Linked DNA regions of Homo sapiens: region 2 is linked to region 1. The links are contacts of gene promoters, found by promoter capture Hi-C in blood cells and fetal thymus (Javierre and others, 2016). All regions are on one chromosome and are shown on one strand. Each heading gives the region's core, a stretch centred on a gene start or on the middle of the fragment in contact. The rest is flanking DNA. Distances are from core to core; before and after follow the strand shown. Region 1 holds the start of DNMT3L (DNA methyltransferase 3 like). Region 2 has its middle 7.5 kb from the start of LINC01678.

Region 1 (4,017 bases), core at 698-3,197:
ACTTTTTTTCATTAAAAAAAGTAACTATGTTAGAACAGCTTTAAAGTTATACAAACCTTGAGGCGCTAGTCCAGAACTGCCGCAACCCCCACCCAGCCCTCAGGCCCCCATGGACACTGTGGTTACATGAACAAACCTGCAGACACACCAACTTAGAGCCAAGGAGCCACATTTTATTCAGATTTCCCACTCCCTACCGCCCCTCTCTGTCCCGGGATCCCATGTGACACTTCATTGTCGCAGTGCCTCAGGGTCCCCCCGCCCCCTGCCCCGCTGTTTTTCAGACTCTCCCGCTGGGCGGCCTGACTGCCCCAGTGAGGAGGGCTCAGGCACTGGGCCGCCTCTGCTCCGACCCAGTTCACTCCTGGAGAGGCTGGGCTGTGGGTGGGGGGAGAAAGCCCCGGTGCGGGGCACCCACCCAGGCGAATCCTCCCCGAGACGCTGGCCTGGGCCAGGGGCCAAGGGGTCATCAGGCTGCCCCTGTGTGGTCACCCCTCATGCAGTACTTGCAGAAGGAAGTCACCAGGCCCAGCCCACACTTCAGGGGGGTTACCTCCCGCAAGGGTCTTCTCCCACTTTCGACCAGCACAATTGTCCTGTGGCTCCAGCCCTGCCCGGCGGTCCTCCGCCCCCTGCTCTGAAGCCCCTAACCTCCCTCCAACAAAGTCCCCCTTCCCAACCCACCCCGCACCTCCCACACTGCCCCTCTGCCCACCCCACCTTCCTGCTCCCTTCCCTGCTTCCACGTTCCACCCCCACCCTGAACCTACCCCTCCCAGCTCCCCAACCCCCCACCTGCCCTGACATTCCCCACCCAACACCCCTTACCCCATCCTCCAGGGCCTTCCCTGTTTCCTTCTCTCCCCCACAGCTGCCCCCCAAACCTGGGGCTCCAGACTGAGCTCCCAAGCCCGGCTCCTGAACGCCCCTCCCTCTATCCCGCCAGAGGACCACCTCCCCTGAACACCCCCATCTCCTCCTCACCATCTACCCCCACCCCCACTCCCATCCCAACCGACCCTGAGATCCCTGAGGCCCATCCCCACCCCATTCTCACCCCTATCCTGCCCTAAAGGCCACCTCCCCTGAAACCCCCATCCTCGGCCTCACACCCCCATTCCTACTTTCACCCCGTCTCTACCCTTGCCCTGAGCCCCGACCCCCGCCACTGAGCCCTGCCCCGGAGTGCCCACCCTCACCCTATCATCACCCCCATCCCGCCAAAGGACCACCTCCCCTGAAGGCCCCCATCTCCAACTCAGCATCCACCCCCACCCCCACTCCCTAATCCCCCAACAGATCTCCCTAAGCCCCGCCCTCCACCCACCCACCCTGCCCTGAGGGCCACCTCCACTAATCCTCACCCATCTCCACCCAGGGGGCCAACTCCACCTAACCCCCCGCCCTGCCCTACCTCCACCCTCCACCCTCCACCCTCCACCCCTCCACCCCTCCACCCTCCACCCTCATCCCTTTCTTCACCCTTGCCCTGAAGCCCACCCCTATGACCTTCCTAAACCCCACCTCTGAGCGCCCTGCCCCTACCCCACAGCCACCCCTATCCCCCACCCCACCCCAAGGGCCCCCCTCTACTGAAACCCCCCTCATCTGCCCCATCCCCAGTCCTCCCATCTCCACCCCTCCCCTGAACCCCACTCCCCACTGAGGTCCCCAAACCCCACCCCTCACTCCACCCTGAGGGCCCCATCCTCTGAACCCCAATCCCCCAGCCCCACTGAGCTCTTAACCCTCCCCACCTGAGGGTTCCCTTTCCCTGCCCGTCCCCCAGCTTCCTAGCTCCCCACCCCAAGTGACCCCCCGCAGCTCCTCGCCCCTCCCACTGCAAACCGGCACTGAAGGGCTGCCCCGCCCCCGCCCCTCCCCGCCCCCGCGGGACACGCCCAGATTCTTTGCCCCCATAGCCTGGTGACCTCTGGCCACCCGCTGTCCCAGGTGGGCCTGGATCCTTCCAGCTCATTCTTTGCCTGCGCCGTCCCTCGTTCCATGGCCCAGTCCTCCCCGGGGACCCTGAGCCTGGAAGCCCCGGACCACTGGAACCTTGAACCCACCAGCTGGCTGTACCCGGAGCCGTGGCAGCAGCCCTGTGAGTCTCTTTCCTACTCCCTGACCATGCTGCCTTCAAGGGTGCGGCTGGCCAAGACCATCCCCAGGGGTCCCTGCTGGGCCTGAGGGACACTGTAGGAGGCTGGGGCATGGGAGTCCCTGAGGGGTCGAAGGCTGGGCCCAGAGGAAAGCAGGGGCTGCAGCGGCCATTGGCCCCAGGTCCTCATGAGGGCCCTGCCCTCCCCTTTTTGCCCCATCTTCCATGTTGTAACAGGGCCAGGCAGGTGGGGGGCACGCCTCAGGGGACCCTTGAGCCCCTCTCAGGGCTGGCACTGGCCTTGGCTGTCCTGCCCCTCATCCCTGGGTTGGGCAGGTGGGTGTCACCGCGGGGGTTCAGGTGGCCTGAACTAGTCAAGGTCTGCTCAGCAAGCTGCTTCCCGTGCTGGGGTGCATCAGGGATCTGAGCAGGGGCTGACGGCTTTCTCACATCTGTGTCCGTGTGTCCTGACACAGCATCCCCATGGCGGCCATCCCAGCCCTGGACCCAGAGGCCGAGCCCAGCATGGACGTGATTTTGGTGGGATCCAGTGAGCTCTCAAGCTCCGTTTCACCCGGGACAGGCAGAGGTGAGGGCTCATCTGCTTATTGGACCAGTCACTTAGGATGCTGATCCCAGGCCTGGATGAGGTCTGGAGTTCCAGGCTTCTGGAGTATTCATGCATTATTCAGGCACCCGGGCTGGGGCAGGAGGTTCCCCACCCACAGTCTTCCCCCAGGTATGGGCGTTTAACACACCAAGATAAGGTGTGAGGGCGGGATGGCAGGGGACCTCAGGCTCCTGTGACTTTGGAAAACGAATTGTGATGCTCACTTCCTGGCCGAATTTAAATTAAGAGATCAGAGGAAGAAGAAAGGGGCTACTTCTTATCTTCCTTTCCAGATCTTATTGCATATGAAGTCAAGGCTAACCAGCGAAATATAGAAGGTGAGTGTTTGCATACTGGCCCACACCAGACAAAAGAGACGGGGCACAGTGGCTCACACCTATAATCCCAGCACTTTGGGAGACCAATGTGGGAGGATCATTTGAGCCCAGGAGTTTGAGACCAGCCTAGGCAACATAGTGAGACTCTGTCTCTACAAAAAAATAAAAATAAAAATTAACCAGGCATGGTGGCATGCACCTGTAGTCCCAGCTACTCAGGAGGCTGAGTTGGGAGGATTGCTTGAGCTGGGGAGGTCGAGGCTGCAGTGAGCTATGATAACACCACTGCACTCCAGCCTGGGTGACGGTGAGATCCTGGAAGGAGGCAGTGGACACCACTGTGCCACGTGTATCCCTTCTCCCCCTCCCAAGGCCCCTGTAGCTTCATTTAAAGCATATAGTTTAATGTATTTTAGTTTATTTACAGAGTCAGCAACCATCATCACCATCTAATTTTAGAAGGTTTTCATCACCCTGAAAAGAAAACCCATGTCTAGTAACAGTCACTCCAAATTCCCCCTTCTTGCTTCCCTTCTTTTAACTCTAGGCAACCACTCCTCGACTTTCTCTCAACGTGGGTTTGCCTTTTCTGGATCCTTTGCATTTCCGTATGAATTTAGGATCAGCCTGTCAACTCCTGCCCAAAAGCCAGCTGGGATTTTGAGAGGGCTCTGCAGCTCCATTTGGGGACTCATGCTATTTTAACAATATTAAGTCTTCTTCTTTTTTTTTTTTTTTTTTTTTTTGAGACACACTCTCACTCTGTCCCCCAGGCTGGAGTGCAGAGGCATGATCTTGGCTCATAGCAACCTCTGTCTACCAGGTTCAAGTGATTCTCCTGCTCAGCCTCCTAAAGTGCTGGAATTACAGGCATGAGCCACCACACCCAGCCAATGTTAAATCTTCTGATCCATGAACATGGGATATCTTTCCATTTTGTTCCATCTTCCTTAACATCTTCCAACAAT
Region 2 (4,017 bases), core at 1,076-3,575, 110 kb after region 1:
CACTTAGGGGACTCGTGTCACATGGTGTCCAGCATGGCTCGTGGGTGAGGACAGCAAAACCACCAAGAAATGACCCGAGAGGCCAACAGCAGCTCCCCGGGAAGGCCTGGCAAGAAATCCCCACAACCACCTCACATCCATTATCAACAAAAACAGTGACAAGTGTCGGCGAGGATGTGGGGAAACCGGAAGCCTTGTGTAGCGCTGCTGGGTTGGAAGATGGCGCAGCTGCAGGGAGAGCAGGAAGGCAGTTAGTTCCTCAAGTCAGAACGAGCACATGACGCGGCAATTCCACTTCCAGGCGTGGGCCCAGCAGAACCGAAAGTGAGTCTCAGAGAGACACCTGGCGCCCATGTTCACGCCAGCATTATTCATACCAGCTAAAACATGGAAGCAGCCCGAGCGTCCATCGCCAGAGGAATGAACACACAAAATGTGGCCCACGCACACGATGGAATATTTTTCAGCCATAAGAAGGAAACTCTGACACACGCTGCAACACAGATGGGCCCCGAGAACATGACGCTAAGTGAAATTGAGAGATTTTGTTAGTGGCTTGAAACCATCATTGTATTTGCTCACAATCCCGTGAGTCAGCCGTTTGGTTTGGGCCGGTCTCCTGGCCTGGTCTACCCAGGCTGCCCCCACCCCTGAAGCCACTTGGTGGTTAGTGCCGGCCAATGACCCCATGGTGCACACCTGGTCGACTTCCCAGGTTCCAGTTCCTCCCCTCTAGGACAGCCGCTGGGCCTCAGGGTCGGGGTGACTGAGGCTGACGGAGATGGCAGTCTCTTCCACGGCTGTGCCCAGGGAGGCTGCCAGGCACCCATCTACGCAGCAGCACAGTCTAAAGCCAGCCAGCCCCTCCCTCGGCCCCCACCCACGCCTTTCTCACCACGGCTGGAGGCCCCAGGAAAGCAACACAGACACGGGGGTAGGGAGCACTTCCAGACCCAGCAGGAGCCTGGAAGGCTTCCGCAGCCACACCTCTTCCACAGCCACACCCCTTCCCCAGCCACATCCCATTCCTGCAGGGAAACGCTCGCAGCAGCTGGGGTGAGTCCTGGAACTGTCTCCCCTGCTGGGTGCCTGTCCAGGCACCAAGTCCTGCTTGTGTTTTAGAGCAGGCTAAAAGCGGTATCATGCCCAATCTACACCTAGGCATTTGGTATTGAAACTGCAGAAAGTTAAAGAAACAATCTTGAAAGAAGCCAGCAGCGGGTGGGGAGGAACACCTAAACTACAGACAAAGAATACATTCATTTCTTATAGAATTAGTTTTGACTTTACAGAAACTGTGCAAGTAAAAATACAGTGGACTGAAATATTTAAAGTGTTGAGAAAAAATCCACAAGCCTAGAATTCTGTATCCAGCGAAATTATCCTTCAAAAGTCAAGGAAAAATAGACTTAGACAAAAATTGAGAATTTGTTACTAGTAGACCTGCTTTGCAAAAGGTGTTAAAAGTTCTTTAGAGAGGAAAAAAAATGTACAAGTCAGAAACTTGGATTTACATAAAGAAAGGCACGAGTGATCGAGAAGGAATAAGAAAGGTAATAAAAGCTTTTATTTTTCTTACTCTTTTTTTTTTTGAGACAGGGTCTTGTTCTGGAGTGCAATGGTGTAATCACTGCAATCTTGATCACCTGGGCTCAGGCGATCTTCCCACCTCAGCCTCCCAAGTAGCTGGGACCACAGGTGCACACTACCATGCCCAGCTCGTTTTTTAATTTTTGGAGAGATGGGCTCTCACTATGTTGCTCAAGCTGGTCTTGAACTCCTGGCCTCAAACGATCCTCCCACCTCAGTCTCCCAAAGTGTTGGGATTATAGGTATGAGCCACAATGCCTGGCCATTAATCTTAATGGAACAGACAAAAGTTTGTTAAAGTTATAACAATGTACTTGATTATATATGCTTATGTATAAGTGAAACTAATAATAGCAGTGATACAGGGGACAGGAGTGAAGAATTGGGAACATACTGTTATTAAAAGATACTTTTGGTGGGGCACAGAGGTTCACGCCTATAATCCCAGCATTTTGGGAGGCCAAGGCAGGTGGATTGCTTGAGCCAGGAGTTTGAGGCCAGCCTGGGCAACGTGGCAAAACCCCGTCTCTATAAAAAATACAAAAATTAGCTAGGTGCTGTGGCATGCGCCTGTGGTCCCAGCAACTCAGGAGGCTGAGCCAAGAGTTCCAGGATGCAGTGAGCCGTGATCACACCACTGCACTCCAGCCTGGGCGACTGAGCAAGACCCTGTCTCAAAAAACAACAAAACAAAAAATACTTGGGCTACCGATTAGCAAGCAGTTCAGTGTTATTTGAAAGTGGGCTTGAAATAGTTGGAAATGTGTATCACAAAATCTAGGGTAACCACTGAAAATGTGAAAAAGTATAATTGATGTCTAAGAAAGAATAGAAAATAAAATCATAAAATGGTCAATTAAAACCACAAAAGGCAGAAAAAATAAAAAACAAAAACAAAAAATAGAAAATAGGAACAAACATGGTAGATATTAATCCAACTATATCAACAGTGACTTTGAATGTCAGTGGTATAAATGCACCAATTAAAAGACAGAGATTGTCAAAACGGATCAAAAAATAAGACCTAACTATATGTTATCTACACAAAACCCACTTTAAAAATAAAAACAATGGCTGGGCGCAGTGGCTCACGCCTGTAACCCCAGCACTTTGGATGGCAGAGGCGGGCGGATCACTTGAGGTCAGGAGTTCGTGACCAGCCTGGCCAACACGGCAAAACCCCATCTCTACTAAAAATACAAAAATTAGCCAGGCGTGGTGGCTTGTGCCTGTAGACCAGCTACTCAGGTGGCTGAGGCAGGAGAATCACTTGAACCCGGGAGGCGGAGGTTGCAGTGAGCCATGATCTCATCACTGTAGAGATGGGTGGCAGAGCAAGACTCTGTCTCTAAATAAATAAATAAATAAATAAATAAATAGACACATGTAGATTAAAAGTAAATGAACAGAGGAAGAAATACCATACTCACATTAATCACAAGAAAGCTGGAATAGCTATATTAATTTCAGAGCACACTTCAGAGCAAAGAAGCTTATCAGGAATAAAAGGAGTTATGCATAATAAGGGGTGTGGAATATCTTTCCATTTTACCTCTTTGACTTATTAAAGTTTTATAATTTTCCTCACAGATCTTGTAAATATCTTGTTAGATTTCTACCTAAGTTGTGTGTTTCAGAGTTGCTATGTCTTCCTGGAGAGTGTGGCCTTCCCAGGGAGCTGCTGTTGGCCTCTCGGGTCATTTCTTGGTGGTTTTGCTGTCCTCACCCACGAGCCATGCTGGACACCATGTGACAGGAGTCCACTAAGTGTGGGCCCCGTGAATATTCTCGTTTTACTTCTTTATGGAGCTGCTGCTGAATCAGGGCCTGGGCTGGACCCAGGGAGCAGCGGGGTCCCGGAGAGATGGGGCTGCCTGGGCCGGCAAAGCCACCTCTAGGGACCCTGGCTAGCGTCCCACCTGGGCTCCTGAAGTGTGAGATTGTGAGGGCGGCCTCTGCTGTGGGTGACAGTGCTGCCTGAGGCTGTGGTGGCAATTGGCGTGGTGCACTCTGTAGCATGGGTTGTCCAGGGAGGTGTTTGTGACAGGCTTCCCAGGGTCACGGGTGCTTGGGAGAAGCAGGAACAGGGCAGGGTCATACCAGGTGGACCAGGACAACCAGGGCTGGGTGTCCGGCCTCACGAGGACAGACCTCCCACAGCAGGCAGACCCTGCTCTCCTGGCGCTCAGGGCTATGGGTACTCCAGCCAGGCCCTCCTGGGGATCTGATCTCAGGGCCCTGGGGGCATGGTTTGGACATCTGATAGGGGCAGATTACAACTCTGAAGACTTGGCAGGCTCCGGACTTACTATAAAGCTACAGTACTCACGACAGGGTGTTGGCAAAACAGACCAGTGAAAGCGGAGAGAGAGCCCAGAAACAAATCCGCATGGAGAGTCAACTGGTCTGTGACAAAGCGGCAAAAGC

Evidence for each region. Contacts are between HindIII fragments. The CHiCAGO score rates a contact against its expected background, and 5 or more counts as called.
Region 2: a contact is called between a fragment that was not itself captured here and the fragment with the promoter of DNMT3L in region 1, in 3 of 17 cell types (M2 macrophages, M0 macrophages and endothelial precursors). The highest score is 7.5, in M2 macrophages.

The regions. Positions count from the first base shown.
Region 1 is chr21:44,259,827-44,263,843 of GRCh38, reverse strand. It overlaps DNMT3L (DNA methyltransferase 3 like), which reads left to right and starts at 1,947. Exons shown (of 12, transcript NM_175867.3): 1 at 1,947-2,104; 2 at 2,578-2,690; 3 at 3,005-3,049. The coding sequence starts at 2,585. RefSeq lists an enhancer at 1,673-2,232. The HindIII fragment of the contact is 9,625 bases long and covers 1-4,017 here.
Region 2 is chr21:44,150,345-44,154,361 of GRCh38, reverse strand. No RefSeq gene overlaps it. Among named protein-coding and RNA genes, the nearest start is that of LINC01678, 7.5 kb to the left of the region's middle. The HindIII fragment of the contact is 1,519 bases long and covers 1,566-3,084 here.